Regions from separate parts of the Homo sapiens genome. Here all the other regions are linked to region 1. Evidence: promoter capture Hi-C in human tissues and cell types (Jung and others, 2019). All regions are on one chromosome and are shown on one strand. The core of a region is centred on a gene start or on the middle of the fragment in contact, and the rest is flanking DNA. Distances in the headings are between cores, read along the strand shown. Region 1 holds the start of ITPKA (inositol-trisphosphate 3-kinase A). Region 2 overlaps MAPKBP1 (mitogen-activated protein kinase binding protein 1). Region 3 holds the start of MAPKBP1 (mitogen-activated protein kinase binding protein 1).

Region 1 (2,568 bases), core at 48-2,547:
TTGCCGAAGATTCCCGTCTTCCCACTGAACCTTCTTCTTTCCTTCTCCTGGGCCATTCCTGAGCCCTGGCTGAGGGGAGAGAAGGGAAGGAAAGCCCCTCCTGCGGCCATCTCAGCATCCAAGGCAATCCTTCTGGGGCTGCTCTGTCTCCAGGGCCCCAGCCATCCCCAGACACTGAGTGCCTGAGGGGGGACCCTCACTCCTGTGGCACTATGGTAAGATAGGAAACAGTGGCTTCTCCTCAAAGCAGCCTCGCCGGTCGGTCAGCTGACTACCAACATGGGAAGTGGCCGAAGATCCACATGGAATGACACTGATAAGCACTTTGCAGTGTCTGAAACTCTTAAACATCAGTGCTGTCTTCCTAGTTTTACAGACACAACTCTGTGGGTTGGATGAGGTTTTTCTAAATGTACAAATGCAGAAATATACGGAGGGAGTAAAGGGACTGCCTACAAATCACATCTAGAGTGTGGTGTACCTGATTTCAAGTCTTTTATTTTATTCTCGCAGCAACGGGAGAATCCGCAGTCGAGGGAGGTGAAATGACTTGCTGAACGCCACACGGCGGACTCCAAGCCCCGAGCTCCTATAACAGAGGAGGAGGAAGGCGGGCTCAGCTCCTGCCACCCAGCAGCGGGGGAGATGCAGCCCGGGACTAGGCTGGGCCATGGGGACAGATCCAGGCCCCGCCCCCTGACCTTGTTCTCTGCCCGCCGGGAAGTGGGGAACTTGCGGGGAGCAGCCTCAGCTAGTCCCTGGGGCAGAGTCTCCACTTGGGTGCACGCCCTGGGGTGGGGCTTCTTCGGGAAGCCGGGGGCCTTCAACTCTGCTCAGGAGCTCGGGCCGGAGAAAGGCCCCGAGACTTGAAGCCCTTGCCCGGGAGGGATGAACACGCAAAGGAACCCGAGGAACGGGGTAGGGGACCAAGAGTAGGACCAGCTTCTCCTGCGCGGGGACAGGGCCTGTGGAGCGGCCTGGAGGAATCTCTCCCAGCCGCGAAGCCCGGGAAGGCTGCGAGGCCCCAGCGCGGAGCGGCCCCTCCCACCTCCCCGAGGGCAGGCGGAGCGAAGCCTCGGGGCCCGGGCCCAGGTTTTGTGCCTACGGAGGCTGGACTTCCCCGCCACCCCGAGGAGTCACCGAGAGCCTTCTCTCCCTCGCAGGGGCCCTGGGAGGCCCGCGCTTTCTCTGAAAGTGGAAGGAGTGGGCGGGGGGCGCGGCCGAGGCGGGGCGCGGGCGTGCAGCGGCGCAGGCTCCGCCCCGGGGCCGTCTCCAGCCGGGGGCGCCGAGCCGCTCCAGTCCCCGGCGCGCCGCGGGCTGGTGGGCTCAGCGGCGGCGCCGGCACTGGGAAATGACCCTGCCCGGGGGCCCAACGGGCATGGCGCGGCCGGGGGGCGCGAGGCCCTGCAGCCCGGGGCTGGAGCGGGCCCCGCGCCGGAGTGTCGGGGAGCTGCGCCTGCTCTTCGAGGCGCGCTGTGCGGCGGTCGCTGCGGCCGCCGCCGCGGGGGAGCCCCGGGCCCGCGGGGCCAAGCGGCGTGGGGGACAGGTCCCCAACGGGCTTCCGCGGGCTCCCCCGGCCCCGGTGATCCCTCAGCTGACCGTGACAGCCGAGGAGCCCGACGTGCCCCCGACCAGCCCTGGGCCGCCGGAGCGGGAGAGGGACTGCCTCCCGGCAGCGGGCTCTTCGCACCTGCAGCAGCCGCGCCGCCTTTCCACCTCGTCGGTCTCCTCCACTGGCTCCTCGTCGCTGCTCGAGGACTCGGAGGACGACCTGCTGAGCGACAGTGAGAGCCGGAGCCGCGGCAACGTGCAGCTGGAAGCGGGCGAGGACGTGGGTCAGGTACGGGCCGCGGGGGCGGGGCCAGCGCCGGGCGCGGGGGCTGCACGGGGGACCTGGCTGGGTGCTCCCGGAGGACCCGCTCCTGTCCATGCTCCCTCCAGCGGAAGGTCCTGTTCTCGCGGTTTAGGAGGAATCTGGGGGTCAGAGGGAGGCGCCTGGCCGACCTCTCGCCTGGGCAACTTTCACCTCGGCTCCGCCGGCGGGTCGTGGCGCTGGCCCTGGGGCGTCTAAGAAGCGGGGCGAGGAGCAGGCGACCCGCCGCGGGGACTGGGCGAAGCGGGGGTAGCGGACCTTGTTGGCTGTGGGTTAGGACAGGAGGGATCGGAGGGGCTGAGCCTTGCCGGGTGAACCCTCGGAAGGAGAGAGGCGAAGGAGAGTTTCCCTTACCCCCCGCCCCCTCTCCGGTGCCGCGGCCGCACCCCCGCCGTTGCCACGGTTTCCCTCTCCTGAGTGGGAGTGGAGCGGCGCTCCAGGCTCTGCTCGGGAGCCGCTGCCGTCTGCTCCCAGCGCCCGCACGAGGCGTGGACGCAGGGGAGGGAGGGGCGTGGGCCTGGGAGCTCTGGCTGGGAGCGGAACGCAGCCCACCCAGTGCGCGCCCTGCCTCCCATCTTCCCGGCTCGCCGCTCCTGAGCGCGGCAGAGAGGGGCGGTAAACTGAGGCTGCAAGGGGGCAGGATCACTCTGCTAGTCTCTGCCTCTGATAGCCTGGGTGTTCTGGGACCAGGTCTG
Region 2 (2,568 bases), core at 30-2,529, 310 kb after region 1:
TGTTATTATGTGACGTATGACTGTACTTATTCTATGCCAGGTACTTTTTAAGCACTTTATATGAATTATTTAATACTCTGAGCAACTATTATCACCCTCATATTTTAGAGGAGGAAATTGAGATCCAAAGAGGTCAAGCAGGCCAAGTGCAGTGGCTCACGCCTATAATCCTAGCACTTTGGGAGGGCAAGGTGGGCGGATCACCTGAGGTCAGGAGTTCAAGACCAGCCTGGCCAACATGGTGAAATCTTGTCTCTAGCAAAATACAAAAATTAGCCTGGCGTGATGGCGGGTGCTGGTAGTCCCAGTTACTCGGGAGGCTGAGCTGGGAGAATCGCTTGAACCTGGGAGACGGTGGTTGCAGTGAGCCGAGATCGTGCCACTGCACTCCAGCCTGAGCGGCTGAGCAAGACTCCATCTCAAAAAAAAAAAAAAAAAAAAAAGGTTAAGCAGGCAGGGTGCAGTGGCTTTGGGAAGCCAAGGTGGGAGGATTGCTTGAGACCAAGAATTTGAAACCAGCCTGGGCAACATAGTGAGAACCCTGTCTCTACCAAAAAGTAAAAATAAAAAAAATTAGCTGGGTATGGTGGCATGTGCCTGTAGTCCTAGCAACTGGGGAGGCTGAGGCAGGAGGATTGCTTGAGCCCAGGAGGTGAAGGCTGCAGTGAACTATGATCGTGCCATTGCACTCCAGCTTGGGTGACACAGTGAAACCCTGCCTCTTAAAAAAACCAAAAGGGTTAAGGAGTTTGCTTGAGGTAACATAGCTAGTGTGTGTAATGGGGTTCTAACCCAAGTAGTATGACTGTAGAGCTCTGATTGTTAAAATGGCACAGAGTAGGGGGAGACCACACTGTTTTTTTTTGAGACAGAGTTTCATTCTTCTTGCCCAGGCTGGAGTGCAATGGCACGATCTCAGCTCACCGCAACCTCCGCCTCCTGGGTTCAAGCAATTCTCCTGCCTCAGCCTCCAGAGTAGCTGGGATTACAGGCATGCGCCATCATGCCCAGCTAATTTTGTATTTTTAGTAGAGATGGGGTTTCTCCATGTTGGTCAGGCTGGTCTCAAACTCCCGACCTTAGGTGATCTGCCCACATTGGCCTCCCAAAGTGCTGGGATTACAGGTGTGAGCCACTGTGCCCGGCCACTTTCTGCTTATTTTTAACAAATTGCTTTTCCTCTAAGCTGCCTACCTGCCCTTTGAATGAGAAGAGCCCCATTTATGGGCAGCTCAGTCTGTGCAAGGGAGACTTCTGCCCCTGGGTTTGGGGTCAGTGTCTCTCCCAAGTGGTCCTCTGGTGTTTAATGGCTGCAGTAAGGGTGCTGTGGGAGCCACACGGGCTCTGCCTGGCAAAGGCTGGGCTAGGCTCCATTTTCCCCTAGAGAAGCAAGCTGATGGAAAGACCTCTCTACTGGATAAGTTTGTGCAGCCTGCCTCAGGGGAATTCCACTTGTTCTTGCCTCTGCCTGGGAAAGCCAGGTTCCCTCTTGTTGGAGGTGGGGCTGGGGCTGGATGTAGCACAGGCAAAAAAGGCCTTGGGGTGCTGCTTGGTGCATGCTGAGACCTGTGTCCCTGCCCTGGAGAGTGTGGAGTCCTGCCCGCTTTCTTCCTCACACACCCCTGGACTCCAGGCCTGGCCTTTAAGGGCATGTGCTTATGCATGTTTATGAGCAGGTCTCAGCCCAGTGCATGTGCCTGGGAGTCATGATCCTTCCAGATGGTGTACAGGCTTTCCTGATGGAACCTCTAGTAGGTTTCCTAAGCGTGTATGCTTGGCTTAGGCCATCCCTGGGCAGTGCCCCTAATCTGTTCCCTGACCTTTTGATTTCTTAGAACTTGAAGTTGTCTGTGCAAATGGCTTCTTTTCTGGGTGTTTGAGTTTTGCTGTGTTCTAGAACTCCCTGATGTGCTGCTGTGATGTTGGGGGCCACCAGATTCTGTGTGAGCACAAGCAGGTTCTTCACCTCCCTCCTTGTCTCCCTGCTTTTCTTATCTGATCATCCTTACACTGCCCCCAGCCCCCACGCTCTTGTTCCTCCTGTGCCTGTTGCTTTGGGAGCCAGCTCAGGTATCCTAGAAACAAGGAGAGAAACAAAACTCAGAAAATTCTCTGAGGCCCGGAGGCGAATATCAAACCAAAACAAAGTTTTCTGAAAGGAAATGGAACAGCACAGGAAAGGAGGGTGGGCAGTGTGTCAGGCAGAGGTGGGTAGGAGCTCCAGGCTGAGCATGGAGCCTGTCCTAGTGGCTCCTACATCCCTTGGCCGTTGTTTCCCCACGGGAAGCCCCCCTACTAGAGGATGCCAGACAGCCCCTTTGAGAGACTTAATTGAGTTGAACACCCTTAATTGAGTTGGGCCTTTTCCTCAGCCAGCTGGTGGAAGGTTGATGGGCCTTCAAGCCCAGCACAGCCCCTGTGCCCCTGTGCCCCTGTGCCCAGTCCTGAGAATGGGTTTCTCCTGGCTCCTATGCCAGAATGGCCTGGGTGAGTGCCCTGCGCACAGCTGCTCCTCTCCCGCTGGGATGGGAAGTGTCCCAGCAAGGTGACGGGGTGTATCTGGCAGCT
Region 3 (2,568 bases), core at 37-2,536, 280 kb after region 1:
CAGTACGTGGCTACAGTATACACAAGAAAATATGTGCTTTGCCACTTGGCTCTAAAGGCTCACCGTTGTACACAAGCAATGAGTTTAGGGGTTCTTCCCTCTTGTTATCACATGTCATCTCCACAGGGTTTCAAAAGATCTGGATAGGGTGAGACAGACACACCAGTGTAGTACTCCCTTGGGTCCCTTGTCTTTGGCTTAGGCTTTTTCATAAGGTATAATAATTTGTTAGAGGTTCTTCCCTCTTGCAGACACATGTCATCTCCACAGGGATTCAAAAGATCTGGATAGGGTGAGACGGACACACCAGTGTACTATTCCCTTGGGACCCAAGTCTCTGGCTTAGGCTTTTTCATAAGGTGATTTCTTGTGGTAGTAGTCAAGTGGAGAATACTCAGGAAATACTATTTCATGTAACATTTCCGTGTATTCCCTCTGCCTCCCCCGACATGAGTTAGAAAACTACCCCTCGATCTAGTATCAGCAAGCTCGACAGTGACCTCAGCAAGGAACAGCCCTAGATAAAAGGATTCATAAGTAAATGGAATGAGGAAAAGATCTGGAGCAACAAAGTCCTGGTCAGCTTTAGGTGAGGAAGCACAATGGGATGTTGGAGGCTAAAGAAGCCATGAAACCTAAAGTATTATAACATAGCATATTCACTTCTCTTTCCCCCGCACGCCCAAAGCTCTGTTCAAGGCCACCCTTTCCCCTTTCATGATGACCAGGTTGCCCAGTGCAAAAATACTGTTCTTAGCTATTAAATTGCATTACTCAGAATAATCCTTTCCACGTTGAGTCTACGTGCCGGACTGGCTGCGAGCAGAAACTACTTCAGTCGCTTTAAATCTCAACACTTGTGGTCGCTGGGAGCAGAGCTTTTAGGCTGTAGCTCAGTCTTGTAATTCTGAGCTAGGAGTTTCAGCTACGGTCCCTCGGGCCTATCAGATGACAACCTTAACACCCTGGAGGCGTGGTTATCGTCTTGGGGCTCTGGGAAGTGCAGTTCCATGGGGGACCAGGCCTGATAATACCATAAAAGGCTTGGTTCTCTCAATTCTGAAGCCATGTTCTGTTGACCTTCCTCTAAAAGCGGTACCCGCAATTGTGCGGATTCCGTGGTTCCCTAGTCCCAAGCCGTCTGCTTCCTGGGCCCTTTCATTGGCTCCGCCCCCGTAAACCTTGCTCGTCCACTCTGGAAGCGCTCTCCTGACTACAGGCCGCGCCCCTCGCGTCGGCTCCGCCCACCCAGCCCGCGGCTTGGCCCAGGCGGTAGTTCGCGTTTTGAGCCGATCGTGCCACCATAGCTCCTGCTGCTGCCTCTACCGCTGCGGCTACCGCGGCGGAGCTGAAATTGCCGAACGCGATGCCCGAGGGCGCTGTGAGCGGGGTGGCCTTAGCTCGCCGAGGCTGGTGAGGCTGGGCCCGAACGGGGGCGCTGACGAGTAGCAGGGGCCTCAGAGGCGGGTGAAAGATAAAGGTCCAGAGCCGCTGTGGAGGGCGGAGAGCGAGCTCTGGAGGATAGGGAGTGGGGGAGGGAGGCTCCCGTGGCAGAACGAGTTGTGGGCTACGGCGAGCCCCGCCGCGTCCCCGCCGGCGCTAGCGCAGGTGTCCAGGCCTGCGGAAATCCCTGGTGGTCTCGGCGGCCTCCTCCCTTGGACACTACAGTTGCCATGGGAACAGTTGGGCATTAACGGGAACCAGATCGTCCACGAGACCAACTGGGGCCCATCCCATCCATCTCGCCAGTTAAACGCCTCTGGCGGGCGTGGGCCTGGCATTTCTTCGTGGCTTAGGATTTTCCCCCCCTTTTTCGTGAGCCTTTCCTTCCGACGTTGTAAGAAACTGTGCAGGGCTAGAAGGTGGGGATGAGGGAAATGGTGAGAGCAATACCCAGAGGTAAAAGCTGCAGACTTCGCTAGGCAGAAGGTAAGACACTGTGATACTAAGGTGGCTTCTGCCATCTCAGGTCAGTGAGAGGGCATACTGGGAAGCCCTCTGGAGTGGGAAGACAGTGCCGCTGTTGAGACAAGACCCAGGACTGGGCCGGGGACTGTCCCAAAGGGTTTCTCGTCATAATGGCTGTGGAAGGGTCAACCATTACCAGCCGGATCAAGAATCTGTTGAGATCTCCATCCATCAAACTGCGCAGGAGTAAGGCAGGAAACCGACGAGAGGACCTCAGCTCCAAGGTGAGTCCTGTTGGGATCCACCTCTTTCCAAACCCACCCTCTCCTGCTCCATGTTCCTCGTTAACCTTCCTGTTTCTTGGGAAAGATAACTAGAAGCCCTTGTTGACTCTAAAGGATCACATATGATCTCTGCAGGCAATGATTTGGTTTTAGGTTGAAGGAAAAAGAGCAGCAGGGGTGGGCATGCTGAGATTCATCCATGAGAAAAGGTGAATAGTAGGAAGACCACCTGGGTTCAATTGTGGCCTCACTATACACTAAGCATGTGCTTGGGAAGCCAGTTGATATGCTATGACTCAGTTTCCCTTCTTGGGAGAGGACAGTAGGAACACATACCTTGTGAAGGGCTAAGCTGTGACTAATGTAGCTGCAGGTG

Evidence for each region. Contacts are between HindIII fragments. The study calls those that stand out against the background at their distance.
Region 2: a fragment that was not itself captured here is called in contact with the fragment with the promoter of ITPKA in region 1 in 4 of the 25 tissues and cell types used here (adrenal gland, dorsolateral prefrontal cortex, lymphoblastoid cells and 1 more).
Region 3: the fragment with the promoter of MAPKBP1 here is called in contact with the fragment with the promoter of ITPKA in region 1 in 5 of the 25 tissues and cell types used here (IMR-90 fibroblasts, adrenal gland, mesenchymal stem cells and 2 more).

What each region holds. Positions count from the first base shown.
Region 1 is chr15:41,492,577-41,495,144 of GRCh38, forward strand. ITPKA (inositol-trisphosphate 3-kinase A) reads left to right here and starts at 1,298. Exons shown (of 7, transcript NM_002220.3): 1 at 1,298-1,840. The coding sequence starts at 1,352. RefSeq lists enhancers at 200-700, 701-1,201 and silencers at 938-1,557, 1,578-1,757, 1,868-1,917. The HindIII fragment of the contact is 23,030 bases long and covers 1-2,568 here.
Region 2 is chr15:41,802,993-41,805,560 of GRCh38, forward strand. The region is part of intron 3 of MAPKBP1 (mitogen-activated protein kinase binding protein 1); the gene reads left to right. Among named protein-coding and RNA genes, the nearest start is that of JMJD7, 24 kb to the right of the region's middle. The HindIII fragment of the contact is 5,645 bases long and covers 1-2,568 here.
Region 3 is chr15:41,773,198-41,775,765 of GRCh38, forward strand. MAPKBP1 (mitogen-activated protein kinase binding protein 1) reads left to right here and starts at 1,287. Exons shown (of 31, transcript NM_014994.3): 1 at 1,287-1,413; 2 at 1,970-2,192. The coding sequence starts at 2,079. RefSeq lists an enhancer at 734-783. The HindIII fragment of the contact is 12,032 bases long and covers 1-2,568 here.